Linked DNA regions of Homo sapiens: region 2 is linked to region 1. Evidence: promoter capture Hi-C in 16 types of primary human blood cells and fetal thymus (Javierre and others, 2016). All regions are on one chromosome and are shown on one strand. The core of a region is centred on a gene start or on the middle of the fragment in contact, and the rest is flanking DNA. Distances in the headings are between cores, read along the strand shown.

The links. The method cuts DNA at HindIII sites, captures the fragments that hold promoters and counts their contacts. A CHiCAGO score of 5 or more calls a contact.
Region 2: the fragment with the promoter of ITGBL1 here is called in contact with the fragment with the promoter of TPP2 in region 1 in 1 of 17 cell types (endothelial precursors); the score reaches 8.0 in endothelial precursors.

The regions. Positions count from the first base shown.
Region 1 is chr13:102,594,662-102,600,232 of GRCh38, reverse strand. TPP2 (tripeptidyl peptidase 2) reads right to left here and starts at 3,247. Exons shown (of 30, transcript NM_001330588.2): 1 at 3,030-3,247. The coding sequence starts at 3,194. LOC107984588 (a long non-coding RNA gene) reads left to right here and starts at 3,291. Exons shown (of 2, transcript XR_001749984.3): 1 at 3,291-3,785. RefSeq lists silencers at 2,734-3,023, 3,184-3,473 and enhancers at 3,544-3,603, 3,654-3,813. The HindIII fragment of the contact is 7,622 bases long and covers 1-5,571 here.
Region 2 is chr13:101,449,554-101,455,124 of GRCh38, reverse strand. It overlaps ITGBL1 (integrin subunit beta like 1), which reads right to left and starts at 2,450. Exons shown (of 11, transcript NM_004791.3): 1 at 2,194-2,450; 2 at 1,025-1,242. The coding sequence starts at 2,291. RefSeq lists enhancers at 2,368-2,872, 4,206-5,405. The HindIII fragment of the contact is 2,431 bases long and covers 2,214-4,644 here.

The sequences.
Region 1 (5,571 bases), core at 1,998-4,497:
AAACATCTAGGTGAGTGTAAGAATGAAATGTTCAAGGGGAGGCAAAGGATGAAAGGTGGGGATGAAGGGGCTATGGACATAAGAAATGATGAGAACTGAGGCTACATAAGGAGGCCAGAGTTGGATGGCAAATGGCCTCATATATACCATTCAATTTTTTTTTTTAATTTTTACACAAAAGCAGTTGAGATTCCAAAATGGCTTTGTTTTAAATGAGGGTATAATACAAGGTTTTTTTTTTTTTTTAAGGAATCTAACTCTAGAAATGTGAAGGATGGATCAAAGAGAAACAAGACTGGTGGAAGGGAGACCTCCTGGCTATTGCATACATATATTCTGGTCTAGTCCAAGTTCCATCTGGTCTGTGAAACCTGACCAGTCCAGCTCTTACTGGCCAATGCTGCCCCAATCCCTGCCCCATCCCCCCAATAATCCTTGTCAATCTCTGCAAGAGTGACAGTTTGCAAGACTATATCATTTAACACAAACTTAGGCACCTGGTAGGTGCCTGAATATCTGCTGAGGAAATATGAAATCACTTACGTAACTACTACTCTTCTCATGCCACCCATCCTCCACTTGATCATGCCCACAGACCTGTCACAAAAGAATTGGGCCCAAGGAAGTCACCAAAGACTGAGACAACCCACTGTGTTCTTCCACGTTTTCACTTGTGCCTCTAGTCCTTTATTCAGACCCCACCCGGCTTTCCAAACTGCCAGTTCAGCCTCATCTTCCTCCTATTTCATTCTTTCCTTCCTTTTTCTTTCTATCCATCCTCTAATCTTAATGATGTACACATATATCTACAAAATAAATCTGTTAAAGGTACAGGAAAAAAAAATCCTCACGTTTGCAAGCCACCGTACCCAATTTCTTTTAACTGGCTATGTTTAGGCCAATATCTGAGTCAAGGTTGTTAAAAGAGAAGACTTATGCTTTCATTTTATTTCAATATTTTATCATCTGAATATTTATTACATGCAAATATCTAACATATATTTACCCTCCAAATAGTTGGTGATGAAAGATCCAGCATAAACTTCTATTCACTTATGGTGGGAGCTAAATATTGAGTACACATGGACACAAAGACGGGAACAACAGATACTGGGGATCCCAAAGGGAAGGGGTGGAAATAAGACTGAAACACTACCTACTGGGTACCACGCTCACTACCTGGGTGACAGGATCAATCACACCCCAAACCTTAACATCAGGCAATACCCCCATGTAACAAACCTGTACTTCTACCTTCTGAATCTAAAATAAAAGTTGAAATTATATATACAAAAAAGAATAAATATCATTGCCAAAATAGTTTAATATTTTTCTTGAGCATTTAAAAAAGTCACATGTAATTAGCCAGTCCTCTTATAATCAATTTTCACAACAAGGCTGTGGGGTGAAAATTATTGTTACTTTAGAGAGAGTAACAGAATAATGTGAGAAACAGATCTGGAAATTCTACCAACAAATTCTACCAAGCAGCACTTCTCCAAACTTTTCTGACCCTCTTATTATCCTGACAAAAGAACCGGTGAACCACTTATCCCAGCTGTTTTCCTCCCACTCATCCTATAAAAAGTAAACACACTCCACAGCTGAATGAAAAGCATTATTACTTTGTAATAAAGCCCCAAATGAGTTGATAGCTGTCATTGTTCTAAGTCTTTAAGTTATTAATACAACGACAACTATATAACTCCAGTTACCGGGAGGGAATTCAGTACCTGATCCTCTTCTGATTCACAAAAGATGTGCTGTACTCCAGAGTGGTGCTGAAGAACACACACCAGGAATCAAGATTCCCAGGGGTTTCTAAGCAGATTCGGCCAGACTCCCCCTCGTTACTTCCAAAATGCTACCTCAATAATCAGAAAGCACGATAAAGGATCCAGAAGGGAAGGGACATTGTGGGGAGGAGGATGAGTGTTTAGTGTAGAAAGGAGGATAAGATAGCCAGGGGCTGATCAACGAGAGATCAGCATACAGTAGGATTAGTCAGGGATGCTGGGAGATGGATCTTGAATAACGGTGAAATTTTATTACTGGATTTCAGTAAAGGGTTAAAAGTACAAAAGTTAAACTTTAAAGACTTTAAACAGAATGCTTTTAACGAGAGACAACATACTTTCAAAAAAACTACCTTCTGGTATGATACCTTGAATCTACAGATTTTAAAGTTGCCTAAGGCAAAAAACTAAGTAATTTTTAAAAACCGTCGTATGTTTTCAGGTTTAAAAAAAAAAAAGTCGCATATTTTCATAAGGTCTGAGAAGCTCGCCAAAACCAAACCTAACTGAATTCTCCTTATGTAAACGAAGACTAAGCCACAAGATTCAATGACCCTAAGCAAACACGCTGCAGAAGACCGTTTAAAAATAGAATACACAAAACTACCACAGGAAACAATTCCGGAAGAGGACTGGGTTATCTTCTGGAAACCCAGCTTTCGTGCTTAAAGACAAACTATTCTTCCCCAAACCAAATCTCCCGATCCCTAAACATTAAGTTCTCACATGTCAGTTGCCTATCTGGTGTCTCCACCCCACCCCAATGATAAAAGCTGTAAAATTCTCTTTAAAAACGTCAGGCTGGGACCGGTGTCCGAGGCACGAGGGGTAGGCAGAGGAAGGCGGCGTGGAGGGAAGGAGCCTGGGGGGTCCGGCCTGGCAGCGCCGAAGCGAGAAGGAAGGGGAGTCCCTGGGGCCAAAGGGGGACCCAGGCTTCCCCAGGCAGCCGCGCCGGGCACGCTGCTTTTGTTGAGCTGGGGGGACCACGGCCCAACCTGGGGTCCGGGCCCTCGCCCGCCCAGCGACCCTGGCACTGTGCGCCGTTGAGTCCCCTTGGCGGGCGCCCGTCCCTCCCGCGCCTGGCTCTGACCTCTGCCCACCCCGGTGCTGCCCACCCCGGCCCGGACTCGGCCGCAGAGCGGGGCTTTGGCCTGCCGGGCTCCGAGACTGTGTCCCCACCCGCGTCCCCGGCCGCCCGCGCCCCCGCGCCCGGGCCCTCGGGGGCCGCCTCACCTGCATGCCCGGAGCCCCCGGGTCGACCCCCGTGTCCAGGACTGCGATGAGCACCCCCCGCCCATCATACTCCGGGTAGCGGCAGAGGAAGGAGGCGGCTCCGGTCTCCTTCTTCGGCAGGAGACCGTGAAAAGGGAAGGGCTCCTCAGTCGCAGCGGTGGCCATGGACGCAGGATGGAGGACGAGGAAGCGGCAAACTGCCAGGCTGCGCGCGGACTAGCAGCGCGAGGACACCCGTGCGGCCTCGGGCCGGAGGCGGGGGCGAGGGGCGGGGTCGGCCCGTCTTCCACCAATCCCGGCCTGCCAGGGAGCGGTGGCCAATCACGTGCTGCTACGTAAGCCAACGGCGCCGCTCTCAGGAGCTAGGCCCGAGTATTGCCCGGGCTGCAGTGAAGGGGGAGGAGTCTGAGGACATTACTGGAGGGTTCGGATCTCGAACCTGGGGCCTTGAAGAGGCCCGCGCTTGGGGTTTTTAGGCAACAGCAGGCCTCCAAGCAGAGTCCTGGTGTCCCGGACCGAATCACTCCCCGAGAGACGGGCAAGGAGATGGACCGCCAGCCAGGAATAATGGGAACCCTTCGCTTGGCAAACGATAGTTTCCAAACTTAAGGTTGTGGATGAAACTTTTTGGTGCGGCTGCTGCAGGAGCCCCAGCCCCGGGGTGCTGCTGACCCGAGGCAAGGGAGCCGGCGCACTCACGCTTAGCCGCTAAGGAGTCTGCGGTGTCGGCGAAAGCTCCGGACATGATTTTGGAAGGTCGTAGGTTAAGGGGTGTAGACTTTGGGTTCCCCTGTGTTGTTATGCCCCTTTGATGGGGGTGAGGTGGTGAGGGGGAGCAATAGGGTGGAGACAGGCAATAGTTTCAGTCAACAGGAAGTGGGTTGTTGGTCATTCCGTCGCCTTTGTAGCCAGTAACAAAGCACGAGACTGAAATGGGCCCCTCCTATCCTCTGCTGATCCTTAGCTTCCGGGATTTCTGAAAAACATCTTTTTTTTTCCTCTTACACTGAAGTTTCTGATTGCTCCTTACGGCTGTCCACTCAATTATAGAGCCATAATTTTCAGTTTTCCAGATTCACAGTGCCTGCCGTCAGTTGCTGCAAGCTGCATAGTGGTCCTCTAATGATCTTTATGTCTATGCTCATGCCAGGGTAATCTTAGCCTTTTATTGTGCCGAAGACCCCTTTGGCAATCTGGTGAGGCCTATTTCTCAAGCAGTGTTTTAAAATGCATACAATGAAATAGATAGGATTACCCAGGAAATAAATTATGTTTAAATGCAGTTATCAAAAATACTAAAGGCAATTTTGTTATATAGCAGGAGCTTTACGTGTGTGTGTATAGTTACAGGTGTACTTCTTTTGCATTAAATAACAGGAGCTAGGGCCAAGGCTAATAAACTACCATAACTTCAAAATAGTGAAGAATATAATTATTTGGAGATAGCGGTGAAAACTGCACTACGATGAACTGATTTTTATTGGTGACATAACAGCATAACTACCCTGGTTTTTGCCTACATTCATACTTGATGTGAAAAAAATTAAGAGGTTTGTATCTTTTTTCTACGGAAGTTTTTGAACCCCTTGGATTCTGTCTATGGACACCAAGTTAAGAATACCTGGTATAAAGGAAAGCCTTATGCATGCGGTTTCCAACCCACAGAATTTCAGAGATCCTCCATTAAGTCTCAAAAATTATTCTTATGGCTGTGCAATGGTTTCAGCTGATTCCTTGATCATTTATTCAGTCCATAAGTCTTACACAAGCATGTTCTCTTTAGTGCAGAGGAAAAAGAAAAGTTGAATGTTTTTCTTCTTATTCCCAACTGTTTACATTACCTCTAGAAAAGAATTTCAAATTAACACAGACGAAAACAGAATAACAAACTCGCAGAAGACATTCAGTATAGAGCTTATAGTGATAGAACAGAATGGCTCCCAGTTTCAAGTGAACCATAGTCCAATCACTTCATTTTATAGATGAAGAAACAAAGTTAACTGACTGTCATGGATTACAAAACAGGTTGATGAAAACACGGGATTTGTCTTCTCACAATCTCTCCCCAGTATGTTCTACCACACCATGTGCATGACTTTGCCAGAGTATCACCCAATGAATAAATGGGGAATGAACAGTTTATTATGAAACCTAGGTGGCAGACTTTTTATTAGACTGCCGTAACAATGTTCTTTAGATTTTTCTTTTCCTTTCCTTTTCTTTTTCTTTTTTGACACAGAGTCTCACTCTGTGGCCCAGGCTGGAGTGCAATGTCACAATCTCGGGTAACTGTAACCTCCGCCTCCCGGGTTCAAGCAGTTCTCCTGCCTCAGCCTCCCGAGTAGCTGGGATTACAGGTGCATGCCACCACACCTGGCTAGTTTTTGTATTTTTAGTAGAGACGGGGTTTCGCCATGTTGGCCAGGCTGGTCTTGAACTCCTGACCTTAGGGGATCCACCCACCTCGGCCTCCCAAGGTGCTCAGATTACAGGCATCAGCCACTGCACCCGGCCAGATTTTTCTTTTTTTGCTTACATATCC
Region 2 (5,571 bases), core at 1,201-3,700, 1.1 Mb after region 1:
CCTACAAATTTGCCAAACCCTGGCTGGAATGCATTGTGTTGTGCTTTCACTAATGGAGTTCTGTGTCACTCACAAGGCACTAATTGAGGCTCTTGGCCTTAAGTAAAACGACACAGGTAAAGAGGTTAAGGGTGTTCTCTGGGAAGGAATTTTTTGACCCTTTCCAATATCAGAACCTGAATCACTCCTTAAAAATGTGCAAGGGAAATGAATGTATTTTCACTCCACCCTCAGAAAATACCAAGTTTCATTGCAACTCAAAAATTCAAGCAGCTAGAACAATGCAAGAACAGTCATTCTAAGTAAATATGTGCCCGTTTACTTTTTTCCTTGTTACAGTTTTCTGATATGCACTCCTGCCTGTGAACTATATTCTAATAATGAGAGGGCAAATCAGGCTTCAAAGACAAAACCTGCCTCCCTAGAATGGAGGAAAATAATACATTCCCCCTCCCACTGTTTCCTATGTAAAATAAAATACAGGCCTAAGATCTACAAATATTATCATTAACATTCTTGATAGGGATAGGAGAACCCAGTAAAATAACTCCATTTGTGAGGACATTGGGGAATTTAGTCTATAATGAGGAACTTTAGAGGCAAGTGAGATTTTAGAATTAAGCAAATGACGGCCAGGTGCAGTGGCTCACGCCTGTAATCCCAACACTTTGGGAAGCTCAGGAGGGAGGATAGCTTGATTCCAGGAGTTGGGGGGGGGGGGGGGGACCAGCCAGGGCAACATAGCAAGATCCCAACTTTAAAAAATCATAATTACAATAAAATATATAATTAAGTGAATGAATTTTTAAAACTTTACTTCCATTCAAGTTCAGAGCCTGGGGGATAAAAGTGTTGTGATAAATGATGCCAGAATTAACTAGCCAAAGTGTGACAATCGCAGTAACTTAATTGGTGCTTATGTGAAGGGAGGCGTGTCCCCACCCTTCACTCTTCTAGGGAGTGGCAGAAATCCCAGAAGAGGAGTTTCGACCTCCCGAGGGAGGAGACAGCGCCGCCCTCTTACCTGCACAGGTGCTCCCGTCGTAGGTCTCGCACACCCACTCATGGCACTCACACAGGGGCCCGAAGAACATGCCCGGCTCAGTCACGTGGCAGATGCAGACGCCGCAGTCGCAGCGGCCCCGGCCGTGGCACAGCGCGGCCCCCGGGGGCTGCCCAGGTGCGCGGCAGCGTCGCTCCGACTCGGCCCGGGACAGCCTGCAGGCGGCGCCCGGCCAGCTCCTGCGCGGGCGACAAGCAACCGGCAGGCCGGGTCAGACGCGGACGCCGCCCCCTGCTCCGAACCCACGTTTCCTCCCCAGTGTCCCCTCCAGGTGCAGACGTACAACCCCAAGAACAGGACGCCTGAGGCCCACATCTCTCTGGGGTCCAAGCGCTGCCTGGAAGGGCTGTATTTTCCCAAGCAAACAGGTATCACCCACCAGAGAAATGACCAGGGCCCAAAATGTGTAATGGGTGACCTGCCCCCGGACACAGGTCCTTCCTCCAGGTGGACAGAGGTGAACTGCCCTGCTCTTTGGTAGTTTATCACTAAATCTTATATGCACATTTAGATTAAATACAAAGTAATCCAAGGTACGGCACTCAGCTGACTTTTCAGTTCTCCTTTAAAAAACGTCCCACTGCTATCTGATGGCCAATGGGCACTTATATTACAGAAGAGAAAACGTGAATCTATAGAAAGAGTTAGACATGCTATGATAGCATCGGGCATAATTTGCATTAAGCAGTCTTTAGGAACTCTACTTTTAAAAAGTTTAGTTTCACTATTGCAGTGTGCCTCACTCAGTCTCTTTCAGGATGATACAAAATGTAACACAGACCTCCTGTTGCTGCCCTTGGGAAACAGATCATTCTGCTTTACATGTTGTGAGAAGATACTGGTACACATAGCATTTTAACTCACAGCAGGAATTCCTCCTGATATGTATTTGCAGAAAAGAAAATTATATTTTTATTCAATGATTGCATTTTTCCAAAGGAAAAGCAAAAGGACAGACATGAGGCAATACACGCTGTAGATATAAGGAGAGGAAAAGGAACAGGTTGAAAACAGTTTATCCCTTGTCCAATTTAATAACAGCTCTTGGCTTAGGGCAGCCATCCTGCAAGCTTGAGCCCTGCCACATAAGCAGGGCAGGTCTGTACTGAAGAATAACAAACCAAACTTACCTCAGAGATGGCGAGAAGCTTTGAGGAACAGCTGACAACCCAGCAAAGAGAAGGGAGGACGCCAGCAGCAAGAAGTTCCTGAAGCCTGGGGGACGCATGCTGAGCTCCTGGGCTGCTCCGGGCGAGCTGCACTTCTGCAAGGTGGGGTTCACCGAGGGAGGCGGCAGGAGGGAGAGGTGCCACCAGCAGATGGCTGGGCAGACGGACCCACGGACACCCAGGCTTGCAGGTCCGGGGCTCCAGCCGGAGTTGCAATTGCGTTGATGAGCTGCCTGCGAGGATTTGGGCAGCGGCACTGCTCTGGGCGGGGTGCTGGTGCCAAACCCCTCAGTGGAGAGTCTAGGCAGGGAAGTAATTAGAAACAGTTGTACAAGCAGATGGTTTATTTTGACATTAAAAAAAAAAAAAGTGTCCTGTTCACAGATTTCAAGTACGGGCCACAGAAATATTTGACAAGAGAATATTTGGACTGGCCGATATTAAAGAAACCTTTAAAATAATCCCTGAGTTGTGGAGAAGGGTGAGGCCAGTGACAGTAGTGGGAACACTTGGGTAGGGAATTACTTTCACCACACGCTTTTAAAGTAGATGCACTCTTTGGAGTTTGGGTTGGGGCCGGGGCAAGGAAATCTGACAAACACAACTTTTTCTTGCATTTATTATCCTTTGATTTAAACTGGATATTTCATTTCTTTAGTCTTTAAAAAGCGTGTCATGCTTCCAGCTGTTTAGGCCAGTAGCTTATCACACCACAATTTGTTGGTGACTTGGACAGTTTAAATTGTAGTTGTCTCAAATTCACCCCATTCTCCCCATATATCAAATGTGAGAAAAGAAAATTAAATGTTTATTTATAGCACAAATTGCACTGAAAAACAATTGGTGTCATTTACTAAGCACCTACTATGTGCCAGTCATTTAGTATGTTTTCTCTAATTATGACAATAATCACACATTTATTTATGCATTAGCAAATGGGGATTTAGCATCTATCAGGTGCCAGGTTTTGTGCAAGACAGAATGAATATAACAGAGAACTAAGGAGACATGATCCCTGCTCTCTCAGAGTCCAATGAGCTAGAAAGACATTAATCAACACAAAACCACAAAAAAAAAGAACAAAGGGTTGCAAGTGCAGTGAGAAGTTACTTCCAGATGAGATACAGGCACTTGATCTAATCAAAGATGGTAGCATCTGAACAAAAAACTGAAAAAAGTATTGAATTAAATTGGGTAGAAATAAGAAGGAGATGGAAGAGAACAGGGAGACATTCTTACTCCCATTTTAAAGATAAAGAAACTGAGGGCAAAGAGGTCAACTGACTTGCTCAAATTCACAGAGGAAGTTAGTCGTATTTCAGCTGAAATCCAAAGTGCATACACTATCCCCTACATTTATGGTCATCTGGGAAAATGTGTAGAGGGTTATATGGAAGGGGGAAAACATTTTTCATTCACCCTAAGAAGAGCACTGTACATGCAATCCTTCCTCATGAAATAGAACCATCCAAGAATCATCTGTGGTCCCAGATCCTTAAAATCAGGGATGAGCCATAATAGGATGGGATTTCTCCCTGTCCTTTATATATAAGTAGGTATAAGGGTAAGACCACCACAACACTAGCCTGCTGGAGCAAGAAGACGATGAAGGTCCTCTAATCATAGTACATTTCTGTTTCTACCCCAATCTCCACCCTGTAATAGGGGAGGTTTTGCATGAGGCCCATCTGTGTGTCCCCCCACCCCCCAACCCCTACCCACACAATTTAACCTTTTTCAAATAGCTGATTTTCTGGCCACACTTAGATACAGGTGTGTACACACTGGTGGAGTCTTCTATTGCAAGGACAGACTGGGGACAGGTATGCACAGTTTTGGGAGGCTGTCTGGACAGGTAATTCTGGGGTCTTGGATAACCAAAGTGCGGCTTAGGAAAAAAGGACACAGGTTCTGAGTTGGCAGGTTCCCTAAGTCACATGAACTGCAGCCTGTGGGGGAAGGGCCTGTCTAAAAGAGACAGAATGGGAATTACTAAGTCAGTTGTTCTTAAAGCGTGGTCCATGGACCTGCAGCAACATCAGCATCATTTGGGAACTTATGGAAATGCAACTTCTCAGGCCCCAACCCCAGCTCTAAGGAATCACAGAGTGCATTTGAATAATATCCCAAGATATCTATTTTTACATAATAATAGCTTGAGAAGTTTGCAAAGCACAGGGCTCAGGGCTGACGCCTGAGGGTGCCTGGATCTAAGAGTGGAATTTCCACCCACCTTTAGTACAAATTCTAGAGTTACATTTTATCCTGCCCACGTGTGATAGTACAAGGACATAGGAACAGGCTTTCCTGTCAACATCTAGAAACCTAGTGACTCAGAGAATGTGGTAATGATAGAAGGGAAGTATCTATTCCAAAGCCCAACTAGGAATTTGCAATAAAAACATGGAAGCTTTAATAAATGAGTCATGTATTGTTTACTCCTTGCATATTTTCTGAGGGAAAATTTATTATGAAATAGGGACTTGATATTTGAACATTTTTAATGGATTTAAGTGATTTTTTAACCTGTAGTATTTTCATACAGTGTAGTATTCAATAAGCAATATTCTCTTTAATATATTATTCACCTTTGAAATGAAGTTAGTATGTACTAGGTAACTGAGAGAATATAAATGTTCAGATCATTACATTACTATGACTCAGAAATAATATTCCCAGTCAGTTGAAATAGTTATATTGTGGCTGACTTGGTGACTCAGTCGAAAGTCTTGGATCCACAGAAACTCTGTCAAAATCAAAGGGTAACTTTAAATTTATGCCTTTTAGCATTCTTTTTTTTTTTTTTTAACCAAAGTATTGAATGCCTTGGAAACACCTACTCCTTCCATTTTCCCAGTTTTCAGAACCTCAAGGACGCACATGTGCCAAGAAAGGTCCTGAGTTTCTCACTTCTGCTGGCTGGGGACACAGCAGTAGGTTGGATGCATAATGAAGGGTGCCTGAAAGGACCGGGTGCATCTGGAACTGAATTCAAAAAGATTGAAAACACCCTAGTCCTTGAATGGAGTCCTTCAGTCCTCAGGTTACACAATCAGAGAATTTCAGCCTTCAAGGTATTTTTTAAAGGTTGTCTAGTTCAAAACTAAATTTGTTGATAACATACCGTATATTTGCCAAGTAATTAGGTGGCCTTGGTAAAAAAACAAAAATTAAGAGGACCACATCCTTTTCTGAGAATTGCTTTGAAGGTTTCACCCCTTGGTTCCAGGTCTACTCTAAGAAGACATTTAAAATAATATTCTAGCCACTAGCCTTGAATCAAATATTCAATGATGTAATAGTATATTCCCCAGTCTATATAACCCCCAAACAATTCTA